Linked DNA regions of Homo sapiens: region 2 is linked to region 1. The links are contacts of gene promoters, found by promoter capture Hi-C in blood cells and fetal thymus (Javierre and others, 2016). All regions are on one chromosome and are shown on one strand. Each heading gives the region's core, a stretch centred on a gene start or on the middle of the fragment in contact. The rest is flanking DNA. Distances are from core to core; before and after follow the strand shown. Region 1 holds the start of DBR1 (debranching RNA lariats 1). Region 2 overlaps FOXL2NB (FOXL2 neighbor).

Region 1 (5,104 bases), core at 1,798-4,297:
TTTAAAAATAATTATTTTGGGGTGTCAAAATTTTTTTAAATTCTGATTCACTTTCAGGCAATTGTCTTTGCCTTGAGAAGTTCGTCCTAAGGAATTCGCCATTTGCGCCTGCTTGCTCGTTTATCTTAGTTTAATTTTATCAAACTAAATTCCTACTATTGGGGATTCTATTTACTATCCTAATTTAGAATTTTATCATCCGTGAGACTGCTAGGACTCAAGGACCTGTAAAGATAGGTGAAGACAGACCAAGCCCAAGAATCCTCTTTTCTTCTCTCTTTTTTTTTTTTTTTTTTGAGACAGGGTCTTGCTCTGTCCCCCAGGCTGGAGTGCAGTGGTGCAATCTCCGCTCACTGCAGCCTCTGTCTTCCAGGTTCAAGCAATTCTCCTGCCTCAGCCTCCCCAGTAGCTGGTACTACAGGCATGTGCCACAACGCCCTGCTAATTTTTGTATTTTTGGAGAGATACATGTTGGCCAGGCTGGTCTCGAACTCCTGGCCTCAAGTGATCTGCAAGGTACGGAGAGCATCAGGAAAAATAGCTAATGTATGCTGGGTTTAATACCTAGGTGATAGGTTGATAGGCGCAGTAAATCATCATGGCACACGTTTACCTGTGTAACAAATCTGCATAACCTGCACATGTATCCTGGAATATATATATATATATATATATACACACACACACACAAACGAGATATTTATTTATTTATTTATTCTTTTTGAGACAGGGTCTCACTCTGTAGCCCAGGCTGGAGTGCAGCAGCGCAATCTCGGCTCACTGCAACCTCCGCCTCCCGAGTTCAAACGATTCTCCCGCCTCAGCCTCCCAAGTAGCTGGGATTACAGGCATGCGCCACCACCCCCAGCTAAGTTCTTTATTTTTAGTAGAGACAGGGTTTCACCATGTTGGCCAGGCTGCTCTCGAACTCCTGGCTTCAAGAGATCCATCCACCTTGGCCTCCCAAAGTGCTGGGACAACAGGTGGGAGTCACCGCGGCCAAAAAACGAGATTTTTAAACTAAGAATCCAATGAAACAGAAACAGACAATAGAATCAGCTCTGCAGATAAGTAAGATATTGGGCTTAGAAGACAGGCAACCTAAAATAACAATGATTAATATATGAGAGAAAGAGAGGAAAAGATGAAGGAAATAAATTAAAAGATAAAGAATCTCTTTAAACTATTGGCTTCACTGGAAAAGAATCCAATATAAATCCTAAAATTGAAAAGGACTATAATGTTAAAACATTAATAAATGAGTTTGTACATTGGACATAGAACAAAATAGGATTAGTAAACTAGAAGAGAGGTTATTAGAAACTATCCAAAATAAAACACTGATAAAAATGAGAACTATGGAATAGAAATAAAAGATAGGTAAAATACCATGGAAAAATTCCAAAGGAGTAGGAAAAGACAGAAAAAAAAGCAACATTTAAGTAGATACTGACCAAGAATATTCCAAAACTGAAAAAAGATACCAAGCTATAGATTCAGAAAGCATAAATGAGTAAAGTTCAAAAAAAAAACCACCTAGATATATTTTATTAAAATAGCTTTAAGGAGTAGGGAGAGAAAGTAGAGAAAGAGAAAACAGTAAATAGCAAAGAAAAAGACACATTACTGGCTGGGCGCGGTGGCTAACGCCTGTAATCCTAGCACTTCGGGAAGCCGAGGTGGGCGTATCACTTGAGGTCAGGAGTTCGAAACCAGCTTGGCCACCATGGTGAAACCCTGTCTCTACTAAAAATGCAAAAAATTAGCTGGGCATGGTGGTGTGCACCTGTAATCCCAGCTACTTGGGAGGCTGAGGCAGGAGAATCGCTTGAACTGGGGAGGCGGAGGTTGCAGTGAGCCGAGATCGTGCCACTGCCTCCAGCCTGGGCAACAGAGTGAGAGACCGTCTCAAAAAAACAAAAAACAAACAAACAAACAAAAAACCCACATTACTTTCAGTGAAAAAAAACCTTAAGTTTATAGGTGACTTCTCAGTAGAAGATAATGCAAGCCAGAAGATAATAGAATGCTATTTTTGAAATGCTTTGTAAAAAAAAAACCACACACACACACACACACACACACACACACACACACTGCTTAACTGGTATTCGGTACTCAGTAAACACACCCTTTATGAATTAAGGTGAAACAAAGACATCTCTTTCTTTCTTTTTCTTTTTTTTTTTTTTAGACGGAGTCTCACCCTGTCACCCAGGCTGGAGTGCAATGGCACGATCTCAGATCACTGCAACCTCTGCCTCCTGGGTTCAAGCGATTCTCCTGCCCCAGCCTCCCAAGTAGCTGGGATTACAGGTGTGCGCCACCACGCCCAGCTAATTTTTTGTATCTTTAGTAGAGACAGGGTTTCACCATGTTGGCCATGCTGGTCTCAAACTCCTGACCTCGTGAGCCGCCCGCCTCTGCCTCCCAAAGTGCTGGGATTACAGGTGTGAGCCAGCACACTGGCTTCTTTTCTTTTCTTCTCTCTCTCTTTCTCTTTTGTCTCTTTTTTTTTTTTTTAGACGGAGTCTCGCTCTGTCGCCCAAGCTGGAGTGCAGGGGCGCGATCTCAGGTCACTGCAACCTCCGTCTCCTGGGTTTGAGGGATTCTCCTGCCTCAGCCTCTGAAGTAGCTGTGATTACAGACGTGCGCTACTGCGCCCAGCTAATTTTTGTATTTTTAGTAGAGACAGGGTTTCACCATTTTCCCCAGAGTGGAAAGAAATTTTTAAACAAACAAATATCTAGAAAAAAATTAATCTGTCGTCGGCCTACACTAAACAAACAGGAAAACTTAAACTGAGCTCTTCAGACAGAAGAAAAATGATTCCAAAGAGAAAAATGGAAATCCAGGAAGAAAAGAGTAAGGATGGAAAGAGTACATTTGTGGATGTATATACAAAAAAATATTGACTGCATAAAACAATAATTAAAAAAAAAGAAAAAAGGAAAAAAAGAAAATAAGTTCCCTGGGATCCCAGAATTAGGTTTGACCTTCCCGGTCCCTCTCTCGCGAGATCTGGAAACCGGAAGTGAATTATTTTGCAGGAGTCTACACCCAGGCGGTGGCTATACTTATTAAAGTTGGCGGGAGCTGAGCGATCAGTCGGTCCTGGGCTGGCTGTGGTGTAGGGCGTTGCAGGCAGCGCTCACCTCCTCAGGCCGGCAGAATGCGGGTGGCTGTGGCTGGCTGCTGCCACGGCGAGCTGGATAAGATCTATGAGACGCTGGCGCTGGCAGAGCGGCGCGGCCCGGGGCCTGTCGACCTCTTGCTGTGCTGCGGCGACTTCCAGGCGGTGCGCAACGAGGCGGATCTACGCTGCATGGCCGTGCCGCCCAAGTATCGTCACATGCAAACCTTCTACAGGTGAGGACGCGGCCGGGCCCGGACTTGGCGGTGGGGGGGTGGGACTGGGTTCCCTCTGCCACTGGCTGCCTGTTTCCCTTAGATCCTGTCTTTGTTCTCTCTGTATCTCTAATTGGTGCCTAACTGAATACAGGGGTGAGGTAGTGGGAGGCGGGAAATGTATTCAGTTCGGTACTGTATTCAGTTAGGTACCAAATTATGTCAGTTTCACTAGCACCCTATCTCATTAGGTGCTTAGGAAATGTCACTTTCCTTCTTTCCATACACATCTTATCCATTTCAAAGGGTGTCGAAGCCTGGGAGGGGATAACCTGGAGGAAGAAGCTGACAGGTTTAGATAGCTACCTTGTACTTGATAGGACTCTGGAATTAGTTCATTCAATGATCCTGAAGTTTTTACTGGGCCCCTGCTATGTGCTTGTTGTGGTTCTAGAAGATGAGGTTATGGCAATGAACTCGAAACAGTTCTTGACTTAATTGAACGGGCACTGACTTGAGGCTCAAGGTGGAAGCTCTTCATTCCTAAGGGCAAGGATGGATACTGGGCAATTCCTTTTTTTTTTTTTTTTTTTTTTCTTGAGACAGAGTTTCGCTTTGTTGCCCAGGCTGGAGTGCAGTACCGCGATATTGACCCACTGCAACCTCCGTCTCCTGGGTTCAAGCGATTCTCCCACCTCAGCCTCCCGAGTAGCTGGGATTACACCCAGCTAATTTTTGCATTTTTAGTAGAGACGGGGTTTCACCACATTGGCCAGGTTGGTCTCGAACTCCTGACCTCAGGGGATCCGCCTGTGTCGGCCATCAAAAGTGCTGGGATTACAGGAGGGAGCCACCGCGCCCAGCCCCAGGCAATTCCTTTTGAAAGAGCTTTTTAACTTTTTATGATGAACTCAGTTTCTTTTTTTTTTTCGGAACTTATTTGCTTTTCTGCTATGCCTAATTGTGGTAACTGACTTTGCTCTTATGTTCTAGGTATTACTCTGGAGAGAAAAAGGCTCCAGTTCTCACGCTCTTCATTGGGGGAAACCATGAAGCCTCAAATCATTTGCAAGAGTTACCCTATGGTGGCTGGGTGGCACCAAACATTTATTATTTAGGTATGTGATTGTGTTTGTGGATACTTTTTTTTCCTGGGATGGAAGAGCTTATCAGGATTTGCGTTAGTTGGACTGTGTCTTGACATGTATGGTGTTTGGAGAATGTCATTAATTTAAATACTTAATCGTGAAAATTTAATTAAGATAGTTAATTATTAAATGGTTGATCATGAAAATATGCCCTTCATCTAGTGTTTTAAGCACTAGCTAATATAATTGCAAAGACCTCACACACTATTTGTAGTCCCTTCATTTTTTCTTACAATTTTTATTGAATTAAAGACCTTAAACTTTTATTAATAGAAATTCTTAAGCATACACAAAAGTAGAGAATAGTATGATGAATCTCAGTACCTGTTAACCAGCTTCAACGACTATTATATTGCAATCTCCTGGATTTTTTTTTTTTTTTTTGTGGGAAGAGATGACTAGAGTATTTAAAGCAAGTCCAACCGTTAGATTATTTCACTTATACATATTTCAGTACATGTTTTTAAGTGATAAGGATCTTTAAAAATACTACTACAGTACTGTTATTATACTTAACTGAAGTAATCATTATCTATTGCCATGTTCGTGGTCAGATTTCCCTGCTTAATGTAAAGATGTCTGCTTTACAATTGGTTTAAATAGGACCC
Region 2 (5,104 bases), core at 1,898-4,397, 770 kb before region 1:
CGTGTACAATGCTCGGGTGACAAGTGCACCAAAATCTCAGAAATTACCATTAAAGAACTTATCCATGTAAGCAAAAACCACCTGTTCCCCCAAAACTGTTTAAATAAAAAATAAAAAACTGACTGGGCATGGTGGCTCACACCTGTAATCCCAACACTTTGGGAAGTTGAAGCAGGCAAATCACCCTGAGCTCAGGAGCTCAAGACCAGTTGGGCCCACATGGTAAAACCCTGTCTCTACCAAAAATACCAAAAAAAAAAAAAAAAAATTAGCTGAGTGTGTTGGCTCACACCCATAGTCCCAGCTACTTGGGAGGCTGAGGCTGAGATGGGAGGATCACTTGAGCCTGGGAGGTGGAGACTGCGGTAAGCCAAGATTGCACCACTGCACTCCAGCTTGGGCAACAGAGTGAGACCCTGTCTCAAAAAAAAAAAAAGTGTTTCATAAAGTTATAGTGCACACATACACACACACATACACACACACACACACACACACCCTATCTTGGCATGAGGAAAATCTCCAAAGGTAGAACAGTAATACAAAACTCAGCCCTTCTCCCTCCCTTCCTCTGGACTTTGTGCCAGCTAGGCATCTAAAACTGCCTTCCTCCATGGCAGTTGCCTATCATCTTTAGAAAGTGCCCGCTTTGTGGGAGAAAATTGAGCCAGGAATGAGGACCAAGGGGGAAGGGCTCTCTCTGGCATCCCCTCATGGGTTAGCGTGCGGGTGGAGACTGCAGGCCTTACCTTGCAAGCCAGCTGCCCTGAATGCAGAGACTTCTCTGTTTCCAGTAAAGTCTAGTTTGAATGTTTCAGACAGGTCCTCACCATGACTGGGAACTAGGGAGGTGTCCTTGCCCTTGCCTAAGGTTCAGCACCATGGCCATGCAGCTATAATAACCCCAAATGGCAAAGAACTCTCAGATCCTGAGCTGGCTGTCAATGATCAAACCGCTTTTCCTCAGCTACAGTCCCTTTCTTGGAAATTCTAACTTCATTATAACTTCATTATAAGGAAAGTGGCATTTCCCAATTCTGTCCAGCAGAACCATTTTCTAATTCTATTAAAAGGCATTAAGCCCATCCTGGTGGGGAGCACTGAGTGAGAAGTGGAGGGCAGAGTCTCTGCCCATCAGCGCTTACAGTCTGGGTGTGGAGAAAGGCAACAAGGCAACTTTTAAGAACACATCATGTTCCCCAGCAAGCCTGAGGCCTACTGGCAAGGCACTCACTGTTCAGAGCTGAACAAAATGGCTTTGGGCCATAGATGTCATGAGGGATATCAGAGGAAACTTGTCAGCAGCTCCCACCACCCTAGAATCCGCCTCTGAGAGCATCCCACGGGTCTTTGGAGGGAAGAGGGCCTCACTTGGCCCAGGACCCAGACCCTTCTGCCTTTTTCCCAGTTGGCCTCCACCATGAAAAAGGCCGACAACTGCCCTGCATTCTGCCTGATTGACGATGGGGCACATACTCCTTGGGACAAAATGGTGTTGGAGGACTCATACCCCAACATCAGCAAGGTAAAGAGGAGCCCAGAGCTCTGGTCTACTGCCTCTCAAGCCCTTCCTGGGGGAGAAAGAGGGGAGCTCAGTGAGACACTTAACAACAGGAAACAGCTCTCATGTGTGAGTTCTTCCCAGAGTAGGAGGTCGCTTCTCTTTCCTCTTCCTCAATATCTCTCTCTCTCTCTCCACTCCCCTATTCTCTCCCAAGCACATATGTGAGTAACTGACTTTGCTAATCCCAACCAGGCAGACTAATACCCACTGGCTTCAGACCTGGTGCTATGTGGGTGTCTGCTGCTGCACCTTGTTGGTCTGAGCAGCAAACTCAGCAGAGTTTCGAGACAGAGATAAAGCCTGTGTGAGTGGCCTGTGCATGTTAAAGTGTATCTGGAACGTGCTCAGTACCTGAGCTTCTCTGTGGTCTGTGCGGCAGTCCCATCATGAAAACACCCAGGTGGCAGCCCAGTCACCCGAATCACAGGCCAAGGACATCAGAGAATCAACAGGCTTCTCGGAGTCAGGCTTGTAAACCTGGAGCCCATTGGTCCTTCTGCACCGTGAGATGCGAAAGTGAGCAGCGTGTGAAAAGCCTTAGGGTCTGCACATTGGCTTGACATGTTTTCCACCAACATGTGCAAAATCTGAATTAGTACGTGTAGCTGGTGAGTGTGAGAGAAGTAGGAGGGGAGGGAGAACTAGAGGGGATTTGGAGTTGACAGAGGGAGAAGGAGAGAGAAGTGGATGGAGTAACGTGACCTGAGTGGAGGGACACCGAGTCCCTGAGGTGTGGGTGCAAAGGGCCCTGTGAGGGGCCGGGAGGGAGTGAGTGCTGACAGTTGTTGAGGCGTGGAGTGTATGGGGATGTACTAATAGACACAGTGAAGCTTCCCTTTGCTAGCCAAGCACCGCAGAGGCCATCCCTCCAAGCAGAGGGTTGCAGCAAGCTCTATTCTCTCCCGCTCAGGAGCGGGAAGCCGCCGGGTGTTTCGGGGTCCCGCTAGGAAAGGGGACAGCGGAACCTGGTTCAGGCAGCCGGCGGCGGCGCGGGACGAGCTGAGTGGTTCTAGCGAAGCGCTGCCTGCCTCAGAGCAGCCGCGACGCTTCCCTAGTAGAGCTGGGCCGCCGGAAGCCCGAGGCGCGGGCGGCTTCTGCCGCTGTTGCAGGATTCCCGGCCCTGGGGAGAAAAGCGTCTGTATCAGAGCCGTGTAGATTGCTCGCGCCGGCTGTCGGGACCTCCGAGGCGCGGGGCCAGGCTGCGAGGAGGCGCGGGAGCTGAGACTGCGCTCAATCGGCGGTTCACTGGAACCGTATCCGCAGGCGGCGCTACGGTGGGACCACGGTCAGGAGGCGCCGGTGGCTGCTGAATTGCAGCTGCGGGACCCTGGAAAACTGGGGCAAAGAGGCAGTGAGTTCTGCCCAGCCCACCACCCTGGCCTTTGGAGGTGAGCGCCGCCCCAAGGTCACTAAGCCGGGGGCCCTGCGTCGCCCCAATGCCGCGGGGAGAAAAGGAACCGGCCCTGGCGTCCACAAAACCTAGGCACAGTATGCCCTGTTCAGAGAGGATCCCGACCTCGCCAGCAACCAGCCTACCTCCGAAGGTTGAGAAGTAAATCAGGGCGCCCCGCACCGTTTCCTGGAGCGCCCGGTTCACCCACCTCTGGCTGGGCCGGCAAGGAGAGGATTCTGTTCTCTCCCTAGATTCCTCTATCTCCAGCCCGAAGCCCCTGGCTTTTCCGCAGAAGCCTGGAGGGGACCTGAAAGTAATCATTCTGCCAGCTTTCCCGCCCGCATTTTCTTGCCTGTTTTCTGAGCCTTCGAATGCCGGACAGCCATGTGAAGGCACATCTTGGGGAGACCGATTCCAGCCCTTCCCAGGGTGCACGCATCAGGCATCCTCTTCTTCACCAGGGCTGGGGATTCTGTTCCTCTACGGGACAGTCAGAAATCAGTATTTTCAGAGCAGAACTCCTTTCTATTCTGAAAATCCTTCAGAGGAACTCCTTCATTTGCCCCCAACCCCTACACACACACACACACACACACACACGCACATGCATACACACACAGGCTCTTTAAAGGCTGAAAAGGGAGCCGAGTGTGGAATTCAGGGAAGTGATGACACACACAACAATGCTGTTACACCTGGCTGCTGCAGGGCTGAGCAGCGGAAATGCCTGTGAGAAGAAGAAAGAAAGACAGAGAGACGCAGAGAGCCAGCCTGGGTGGTCAAGAAAAAAAAAAAGGAGAGAAAAGGAGAGAGGAGCCCCCACCAGGATGGGGCCAGACCCAGCTGTTTTTCCCCCTGCCCAGGCCCTGGCTGGGGGAGGATAGGCACTGAGGCCAATCTGCAGCAGCCCCAAACCGGACTCACCACTCCCACCCAAAGCTTGGGCAAGGATGGGGGTAAGGAAGAAGAAAAACATCTGCACTCCTGCTCAGAAAGCAGCAGCAGGGATTCTGCGGAAGTGCTGCTTCCCCCATGTCTGTTGGGTGCAGTGGGAGACCGCCCATAAAAAAAACCAAGCTACTTTGGGGATAGCCTTGCTCCCTCTCATCCTTGTGACCAGGCAAGGGCTGCCCTGCTGACCTCTCTGGTGTCATCTTCAAGATGCTGAATTCCAAAGAGCCCTACCACCCTTGTCCTCCCTCCCTTTCATCTCAGAATGCAGATCAGAGGCCTGAGTGAGCAGCAGACAACACTTGTAGATGGCCTGTGGATGCTGGAACCACAGGCCGCTGAAGGCTCCTTGGGCTTCAGGAGAACCCTCAGAGTCTAAACAGCCTGGGAGGAAGAGGCAGTGACAGGCATTGAGTCAGCCACTCCAGACATGCCAATCACTAATGCACAGCTATATGACATCCATTCAGTCCACCTTCCTCCATAAGGTGGCCTTGCCCCCCTCCTCAGCACCAAGGAGTTTGGGGCTTGAGGATTCAAAACACTGGCCATCTCTCTCATACTTTATGACTGCAGACTTTTTGTTTAGGCCAAGTTAAAAGGCACTGTTAAGGAGCACACTGTTAAAAGGCACACCTGATTTTCCCTGAAACAATCTCTGTACATGCTGAAATAATTGGATTCCCATCAGAATTCTGCTTAAGGTAGGTGACAACTAACTCCTGATTCTTTGGAGAAAGATCAGAACAAATGTCTCATCAGGAGAGAGATTTGAACAAGTCCCTCCCTCAGCCTGATGTTTGTCTTCCCAGTCTGTGGCAAAATACATACACTGGGAGGGAAAGAGGCATCGAAGAATTGTGAAAGAAAGGAAGAAAGGGGGGAAGGAAAGAAGTAAGAAAGGAGAAAAAGAGAAGATGCTATATCCACCAGCTACATTTACTCTAATACTTGATGAACATATTACATAACTATCAGTATAAGTGTGTTTTACCTCGTAAATACAAATCTCACACCTTGTACATGTGCATACCTGTGTTTCTGAGCAGCACACATGCACCTGGTATCTCACCCATCTCAAGGACAGCTCCTCTCCATGACTTCCATATGTGACCCCTGTGCACACACATACACAGTCCCGCAAAGTCCCGGGCAACAGCCCCGCCTGTGTTAGTGCAATAGCTGAGGGGCATCTA

The links. The method cuts DNA at HindIII sites, captures the fragments that hold promoters and counts their contacts. A CHiCAGO score of 5 or more calls a contact.
Region 2: a contact is called between a fragment that was not itself captured here and the fragment with the promoter of DBR1 in region 1, in 1 of 17 cell types (naive B cells). The highest score is 6.9, in naive B cells.

Annotation. Positions count from the first base shown.
Region 1 is chr3:138,172,864-138,177,967 of GRCh38, reverse strand. It overlaps DBR1 (debranching RNA lariats 1), which reads left to right and starts at 3,047. Exons shown (of 8, transcript NM_016216.4): 1 at 3,047-3,369; 2 at 4,342-4,466. The coding sequence starts at 3,173. RefSeq lists an enhancer at 3,132-3,341. The HindIII fragment of the contact is 14,113 bases long and covers 1-5,104 here.
Region 2 is chr3:138,947,845-138,952,948 of GRCh38, reverse strand. It overlaps FOXL2NB (FOXL2 neighbor), which reads right to left. Exons shown (of 3, transcript NM_001040061.3): 2 at 3,310-3,429; 3 at 1-2,684. The coding sequence ends at 2,377. Among named protein-coding and RNA genes, the nearest start is that of FOXL2NB, 3.2 kb to the right of the region's middle. The HindIII fragment of the contact is 1,502 bases long and covers 2,397-3,898 here.